2 separate regions of the Homo sapiens genome follow, and region 1 is linked to region 2. Evidence: promoter capture Hi-C in 16 types of primary human blood cells and fetal thymus (Javierre and others, 2016). All regions are on one chromosome and are shown on one strand. The core of a region is centred on a gene start or on the middle of the fragment in contact, and the rest is flanking DNA. Distances in the headings are between cores, read along the strand shown.

Evidence for each region. The method cuts DNA at HindIII sites, captures the fragments that hold promoters and counts their contacts. A CHiCAGO score of 5 or more calls a contact.
Region 1: a contact is called between the fragment with the promoter of FBL here and the fragment with the promoter of VRK3 in region 2, in 1 of 17 cell types (fetal thymus). The highest score is 5.0, in fetal thymus.

Annotation. Positions count from the first base shown.
Region 1 is chr19:39,843,480-39,847,734 of GRCh38, reverse strand. It overlaps FBL (fibrillarin), which reads left to right and starts at 1,356. Exons shown (of 9, transcript NM_001436.4): 1 at 1,356-1,444. The coding sequence starts at 1,435. RefSeq lists an enhancer at 1,811-2,551. The HindIII fragment of the contact is 4,240 bases long and covers 1-3,021 here.
Region 2 is chr19:50,024,091-50,028,117 of GRCh38, reverse strand. VRK3 (VRK serine/threonine kinase 3) reads left to right here and starts at 2,746. Exons shown (of 15, transcript NM_016440.4): 1 at 2,746-2,851. It overlaps ZNF473 (zinc finger protein 473), which reads right to left and starts at 2,113. Exons shown (of 5, transcript NM_015428.4): 1 at 1,996-2,113. RefSeq lists enhancers at 1,960-2,009, 2,420-2,469, 2,810-2,889, 2,939-3,440. The HindIII fragment of the contact is 2,425 bases long and covers 2,109-4,027 here.

The DNA of each region.
Region 1 (4,255 bases), core at 107-2,606, about 10 Mb after region 2:
TTCCACAGCTGGAACACTGTACACAGAGAACTCACAACGGTATGAGGCCATCCATTCATTCAACAAACATTTACTGGGCACCCAGAGGGCTGTCCTAGGCCTAGAGTGATAGAGCAGTGAATGGAACAGAGTCAACATCTAGGCTCTGGACTGGTAGGTTCTTCTGGAGTTTTTCGGTAACTTCTCATAACAGCAGTTGTCTTGCTTTGCAGAATGAATATAGGGATGGATACTGATATTACACAATTACAAAGCCCAAAATTCTTAATACTTAAGCAGAATCTGTTGACCCCTGACGCCGCTCTCTGCCCCCACTCTGATCTGTCCATCCTTTTCTTCTGATTCACGGCAGCAGCCAGTCCTTGGTTTTCCTGCTTTCACCCTCACTCCTGCAGTCTGCTTCCCACATGCAGCCAGAGGGACCTGTGTCAGATCACATTCCTTCTCTGCTTGGAACCCTTCCATGGTTCCATCTTACTGCCTAAGTCCTCACTATGTCCCACAAAGCTCCGCACAATCTGCCCTTGTTAGCTACCCGCCCTTATCTCCTCTTACTCTCCACCTTGCTCACTTTGCCCCACCCACCCTCCTCATTGTCTCTCCAACTTCCCATATCTTTCCTTCCTCAGGGCCTCTGCATCTGCAGATCTTTTCCCTGCCTGGAACTCTCTTCCCCTAGATAGGTGCATGCCTCACTCCTCACTTCCTTCAGCCCTTTAGCTCAAAAGTCTCCTGATGCATTCCTTGACCACCGTGCCAAAAAAACAAAAATCATTTGCCCTCCAAAATCTCTATCCCCTTTCCCTGCTGTTATTTTCTCCAAAGCACTTATCGCTTTCAAACATTCAACATGTTTGGTGTCTATTTCCTCCATTAAAAAGATGAACTCCAGGAGAGTGGAGATTTTTATGTCTCGTACACCGCTGTATTCCCAGCTCCTAGAACAGCACCTGGTACACACGAGGTGCACTGTAAATGTTTTTCGGATGTTTGAATGGAAGCCCAGAGTCGGTCACTGTTCTTGGGGCTGGAAATGTATTGGGGAAGCCTTTTTGGGTGTACAGGGGCCAGAGGGATTTAGCTAGGAATACAAAAGAGGGCACAGCCCGTGCGAAGGCTATGAGCCCTGATTATTGGGGTGCTCGCATTGGGGAAGAGGAAACCGGAAGCGAGTTTAGGGCGACCGCTGCACAGGCAAAGGCTGGGAAGGCAGAGAGCGAGGGCAGCGGGTTGCGTGTCGACAGGCTCGAGAATCCAGGCTCACTGCGCGTGCGCCGAGCTCCGGGCGGGGAAGGGGCCCGGGGGCGGGACTACGGGGTGGCGTCACGCAGCGCACGTCGCCGCGCGCCTGCGCTCTTTTCCACGTGCGAAAGCCCCGGACTCGTGGAGTTGTGAACGCCGCGGACTCCGGAGCCGCACAAACCAGGGCTCGCCATGAAGCCAGGTCAGGCTGGGGTGAGGGTCCGGGGTCAGGGACGGAGGCCGGGCGGGAATCCGGGTGCCAGGCCAGAATCGGAGGGGTGGGGCCTTGGCCTGGGGGCAGGGGTTCTGAGCACGGGTTCCAGTCTCCTGTGGGAAGGGGGATTCTGATTCCAGCAGGTCTAGGGGTTTGTGACTGGCTTCAGAGGTCACGGTCGTGAGTCGAAGAAGGCCGTGGGCCTGGCATTGGGGGTGTTGACGTGGGGTTCGTCTCATTGAGGCCGTCTAATAGGGATTTTGGATATTGGGCAGGAGGCGGCACTCAAGGGTCTTGGGCTAGAGTTTGGATTCAGGCATCTGGAGTCTTGGATCGCTGGGCGTGTTTTGGGAATCAGGCTTGGGTCGGAGATGGAGAGTTCCTGACCTTGGGTCCTGGAGCTGTGTGTGGGAAGCCCCCATTTGCCTTCCCTGTCGCTGCCACCACCACCATCCCCTTATCCCGCATCCCAGCTTTTCCGAGTGGGCCGGAGTGGATGAGGACTCCCCGGTTGGCCGTGTGCGGCGCTCTTCGGCTCACTTTCCCGCCTTCTGCACTTACAGTGGGGCGGATCCCCGGGGATGGAGTGGAGATTTGGGGATTAAGATTTCCACCTCCGGGACGAGACTTAACAAGCTCGGCATTAGTCTGGGGTGGTGGGGCGGGTGGTTGTCACAGGAGGTAAGTAGTTTTATTCTTAAGATTTTCCACTAGATTCTGCTGAAACCACTCCCTTCATGGTGGAATGATGAGGGGGTCCTGGCTTTGACAGCAGAAGGGCCTCAGTTCAGTGTGTCAGCTCTTGCTCAGCTTCTTAGCCTGCTGTGTGAACTTGGGCAAGTGGCTTTACCTCTCTGAGCCTCTGTTTTCTCATCAATAAAATGGCGCCAGTTAGGATTAAGCGACGTTAAAAAAAATAGCACAGTGCTTGACATATAATAGTATTAGCTCTAATTGTTACCTTTATCTTTCTCAAAGAGAACAACATTAGAATCCTTCTCGGTGGTGCCTGAGCACTTCCTCCATCTGGCCTGCCCAACCCGCACTCATCTGTGTGAGAACTTGCTTCATTGAGTTTGGAGAATTTCCACCATGGCCCAAAGGGTCTGTTTTCCTAGTACAGGCTTTCTTTTTCTTTTGTGTGTGTGTTTGTGTGGAGAGATGGGGGTCACCTGGCAGGAGATTTGTGGATCTGTGCCCTTCTCCCAAGTTCCCTTTCTCTTCCGTGTTTGGGGATCTCTTGATGAAGTGGGGTGGGGGATTGTAGGCCAGGTATGCTGAGATCCTGGCTTGCCTGCAGGCATTCTGGTCTGTGATTCCCTCATAAATGGAGGATACCCGTTCTTCCAACCTTCCTCCATGTGTGGTAGAATGTGAAGTTGTAAAAGTTGTCAGGTGTTAGCTCTTTAGTAAGGATTTTAGCCTGAGTGAGAAAAGAACCCTTTGGGAGATTTTTGAGCAGGGGCGTGGTGCAGTCTGACATTTTTAAAAGGGATTCTTTTTGCTTCGATGTGTGAAAGACCTCAGGGTGGCAAAAGTGGAAGCAGGCACATTGGTGGGAAGCTTGTTGCTGTAATCTAGGAGATGGTGTGGTGGACCAGGATGGGAGCAGTGGACATGCTGACAGTTTTACATGCTTTTGAAGACAGAACCAACAGATTGTATGTGGGTGTGTGATCGGAGTCAAGGATAACCAAGGGTTTGGGGGTGTGTAACTGGAAGGATGGAATTGCCATTTTTGAGATGGAGAAGGCTGTGGAAGGAGAGCAGATTTTAAATCAGGGGGTTTATGGACCCCCCTCCCCCCAAAAAAAGAACTTACTGGAAAAGTTTGTGTGAACATGTGTTTTTTCTGAGGACTGGGTACTTTTGGTACATTTTCCCCCAAAAGCTCCAGGACCTGAAACGGATTGAGATGTTTTGAGTATCTGGGATTGAAAGTTTACACTCATGCCCACTCCGCCCCAAGCACATGCCAGTACTTCCTTTCTGTTAGGCCTGGGTTGAGACTTTCATAAGCCTAGCTGTGGCATCTCCCCTAAATGAAGGTCTTGGCTTTGGAAAACTGTTGGAGGGCTTGGGCAAGAAAATTGAGATCTGAGTTGCTGTTTCAAAAACAGCACTTATTAGTTGCTGTGTGGAAAGTGGACTGTAGGGGGAGTAGAACATTAAAAAGTGAACAACTCTTAGTTATGTTCTAGAGTTTTGAAAAGGAAACTTCATTTTAAAAGATCAAATTAGGAGTAGCTATTAAAAGTTACATTTTCATCTTTAATAGAAAGATGAAAAAAGAACTAACTGGAAAAGTTTGTGTGAACATGTGTTTTTTCTGAGGAATGGGTACTTTTGGTACATGAGGAGGGAAGAGGAGACGCGTACCCCTGAGTTTGAATGATGATGTTCAAAGTAGGTGCCAGATAGTATATATGTGATGTGCTCTGTGGGTACAAGTCATTTAATCTTTACAACCCTATAGGATGAGCACTGCATTTTTTTTATTTTTATTTTTTTGATACAGAATCTCTCTCTGTCACCCAGGCTGGAGTGCAGTGGCACCATCTCAGCTCACTGCAACCTCCGCCTGTGTTCAATTGATGCTTGTGCCTCAGCCTTTTGAGTAGCTGGGATTACAGGCATGCGCCACCACGCCCAGCTAATTTTTTGTATTTTTAGTAGAGACAGGGTTTCACTATGTTGGCCAGGCTGGTCTTGAACTCCTGGCCTCAAACTGTCCGCCTGCCTGGGTCTCCCAAAGTGCTGGGATTACAGGCATGAGCTATGGCGCGTGGCCTGGCACTG
Region 2 (4,027 bases), core at 1,497-3,996:
ACCGTGTTAGCCAGGATGGTCTCGATCTCCTGACCTCGTGATCCACCCACCTCGGCCTTCCAAAGTGCTGGGATTACAGGCATGAGCCACCACACCCGGCCAAAAAAATTAAATTTAAGTTTAAAAAGCGGCTGGGTGCAGTGGCTCATGCCTGCCATCCCAGCACTTTGGGAGGCCAAGGCAGGCGGATCACCTGAAGTTTGGAGTCCAAGACCAGCCTGATCAACATGGTGAAACCCCCGTATCTACCAAAAATACAGAAATTAGCCAGGCATGGTGGTGCACGCCTGTAATTCCAGCTGCTTGGGAGGCTGAGGCAGGAGAATCGCTTCAACCGGGGAGGTGGAGGTTCCAGTGAGACCGAACTCCAGCCTGGGTGACAGAGCGAGACTCTGTCATCAAAAAAAAAACACAATTCTCCCCTTCAGATGAGGCAAGTGCTCCCCAAGGCCCCGCAGCCTCACCTGGACCAGTTCTCTTCTTTCCTGTATGTCATCTGCCTGGCCCTCACAGACAGCTGAGCTTGAGATCCCTGTCTGCAGTTACCAAATCACATTCTGCCCACATCTCATATACTCTCAGCTCTGGGAGGAAAGAAACGAGGGCCCAGAGGTGGAGCCCAAGGTCATCCAGCCCAGAGTGACTTAAGCCAAACAATTATCAGGCTGAGAGACCTTGGGCCCAAGAGTCTTGCCCTTCCTTCCAGACCATTTACCTTCTCTAAGCCTTAGTTTCCACATGTACCAAATGGAACAAATACAACAGATCTATGGTCCTTTAAATGCTCCAAAAACCAGAACTTGATTTATAAACTGACCGCAAAACTTCACCTGGATTGCCACAGGCCATGTAGGGTCTTAATGTTCTCATAAGTGTGAATATTCACACCTTGCCCCACAGAAACATTTTATGACCAAAAACTGGCCCAGATTCCTCGGGGTGTGGGGGGGTGCTGCCTAATTATAAAATATGCACCCTATTAGCTTTCTAAAATCTGAAAAATTCTGATTCCCGAGATTGCCTTGGTGCCAAGGGGACCTGCACTTATGTCTCAGTGCTGCTGCGGGGATCAGAAGAGGAAATGCAACTCCAGCAGGGCGCCTGGCACACAGAAAGCACTCAAATACTGTAAATGTTAAGTACTTCAACTTCCCGAAGAACTCCCATCCATCGTCCAGCAAGATTCTGCCTAAATTTGCCAACTTCAGGTAACTCATTCCCCTCCTTCCCCAACCAAAACCAAAATAAAACAGAACCACTCCTCTCAGGGCCATCAGGGAGGCCTGGAAACCCCTTTAGCAGTTTTCTTTTCTTTTCTTTTCTTTCTCAGCTCACTGCAACCTCTGCCTCCTGGGTTCAAGCAATCCTCCCACCTCGGCCTCCCAATTAGCTAGGAATACAGGGGCGCACCACCACGCCCGGCTAATTTTTCTATTTTTTTCTTCTTTTGTGGAGACAGGGCTTCACCATCTGGCCCAGGCTAGCCTCGAAATCCTGGGCTCAAGCGATCCGCCCACCTCAGCCTCCCAAGGTGGTTTTCTTCCTTTCTTTTTTTTTTTTTTTTTTTAAGATGTAGTCTCGCTCTGTCACCCAGGCTGGAGTGCAATGGCGCGATCTCGGCTCACTGCAACCTCCAGCTCCTGGGTTCAAGCGATTCTCCTGCCTCAGCCTCCTGAGTAGCTGGGATTACAGGCCCCCGCCACCACGCTCAACTAATTTTTGTATTTTTAGTAGAGACTGGGGGTTCGAGGAACTCCTGGCTGTAAGTGATCCCCCCCGCCAAGGCTTCCCAAAGTGCTGGGATTACAGGCGTGATCTACCGTGCCCAGACCTTGAGCGGTTTTCATAACAGACTGTGAAAGACGGTTCACACCTTCACCCTGACAACCGCCGCCCAAGGCGACGCACCCTTTGCCGAAGTCGCCCCCACTTGCATTCCGTCACCTCTCAGGAAGGACCGAGCCCGCAAGTCCCTCAGCCCCAGCGTCTCCGTACCTCGGGATTGTAGTCGGCCGCGTCAACAGACGCAACCCCAGCCTCAAGGGAGCGGGAGATTCAACTCCCCGCACACGCGCCTCCTCGCAGCGACTTCCTGTGCGCGAGAAGCTTCTCTGAGCGGCTGCACCCAGGATCCTCCGCGGCAGCGCCAGGACTCTATTTCCCAGAGGGCTGTGCGGGCGACTTCTTTCGCCTTCCCATCTCCTCCTGCTTCTTCAGCCTTAGCACTGTGGGAGTAGAGTAGAAAGAGAATCAGGACCAGGCGGCATCAGTTTGTAGTCCAGATTTTTACCTTGTTAAAGAATCATCTAATTAGCTTCTTGCCTTTACTAGAAGTCAGGGAGTGTTAACCTTTTCCGAAGAGCAAGCGGTAGGTTGCCATGGAAACGCGTTGTGACGGGTTTCTGAGAAAACAAGCGGAAGTAAGGGGCGGAGTTGAGGCAGAAGTTTAGGTAATGTGACCTCTGATTGGTGGAGAGGTACCTCACGGTGCATTCCGATTGGTCTGACACTGACACATGCGCAGTAGAACCAGAAGGCGTTCCAAAGCGGCTAGAACGGAGGGGAGGGGGATGAGCAATGAGGGAATAATCCCCATTCCGTCTGGAATCAGAGGGCGGGCCTGCCGCGGAGGCATCTGGGAAACGGAGTTCCCAGGCAGGCGAAGCCCAGGGGCCGTCAGGAAGTCAGCGGCGCCTGCGCGGGCGCCTCAGATTCAGGATGCGCGCGCAGCGCTCTCCGCCCAGCGGAAGTTTTCGCTGGGCAACTGAGAAGGTGAGTCCGGGTAACTGCGGAGGATCCGAGGGTCAGGCTGCAGAAGCCCAGAATCCCACCCCAGTCCCCAAGTACAGAGGTGAGGGGAAGCGAGGCGAACGAGGGGACGTCCCCCGACCCCCTAGCCGCAGCTCGGCCGGGGCGTCCGTGACGTCAGCACGACCGTTTGTGGGAGGCGGAGGCCCCTGCTGTCGGGGTTCGGAATGAGAGCGGCTCCGGGTCGCGGGGTTCACTGGCCTCCTCTTGAGCTTCCCAAGCCACCTTGGGCTCCGTGTTGGGCATGGCTAAGGCGGAGATGGGCGGAACTTGTGGGAAGTTCGACAGCTCCTCCGCTGTGAAACTTGGCGTCTAAGTCATCCCGTGGTTTCTATGGAGGTGCGGCCGAAGGGAGGCTCTGTCGTCGCCTAGGCAATCGCCCCACCTGCGCTGAGGTGGGGTCTGACTTTTAGCCTTTTTGCTGTGCTGTTTCCTGAACTTTCTAGGAGGAACACTATACAGTAGTTGACGCATAGCAGCTGTTCCCTAAACATTTGTTGAATAAGTCAAATAAATTAAGATAAAGACTGGCCTGAGGGTTGGAGTCTTAGGGTTTCAAGTCCTGACCTGGCCATTGCATAGGTGACTTCAGCACATCCAATTTTATTGAGCGTTTACTATATGGAAGGCTCCGTGCAACCGATATTACACTACTATAACCTGGGTTTGAACGGTGCTAGTCTAATAGGCACTGTTCAAGCCCAGGTTATTATAGCAGTGTCTAAAACAAAAATCCTGCCCAGCTAATTCACATTCTCAGGGTGGTTGGGGATGCCAGACACTAAAAAAGAAATGTTAAAGAATATTTACAGGTCTGCAGTCCCTTATCTATAACTTTAAAATCCAAAACGTTCTGAAAACTGAAAGGTCTTTTTCTCTGTTTTGCAACTTACTTGGCAGGCCAACCTCACCTGGCTTTGAACTTGTTTGCTGGCAATACCCACTCTGAACTGATGTGTGACTATTTAGAATTTTTAAAGATTTTGTTGTGCAAATCATATACTTATGGAGAGTTGCCCCTGGATCTCGCCGGTGTTGTAATATGTAATAGGTTCTAAAATCCAAAAAATTTGGCTGGGCACGGTGGCTCCCGCCTGTAGTCCCAGCACTTTAGGAGACCGAGGTGGGCGGATCACCTGGGTTCAGGAGTTCGAGACCAGCCTGGCCAACATGGTGAAACCCCATCTCTACTAAAAATAAAAAAATTAGCCGGGCATGG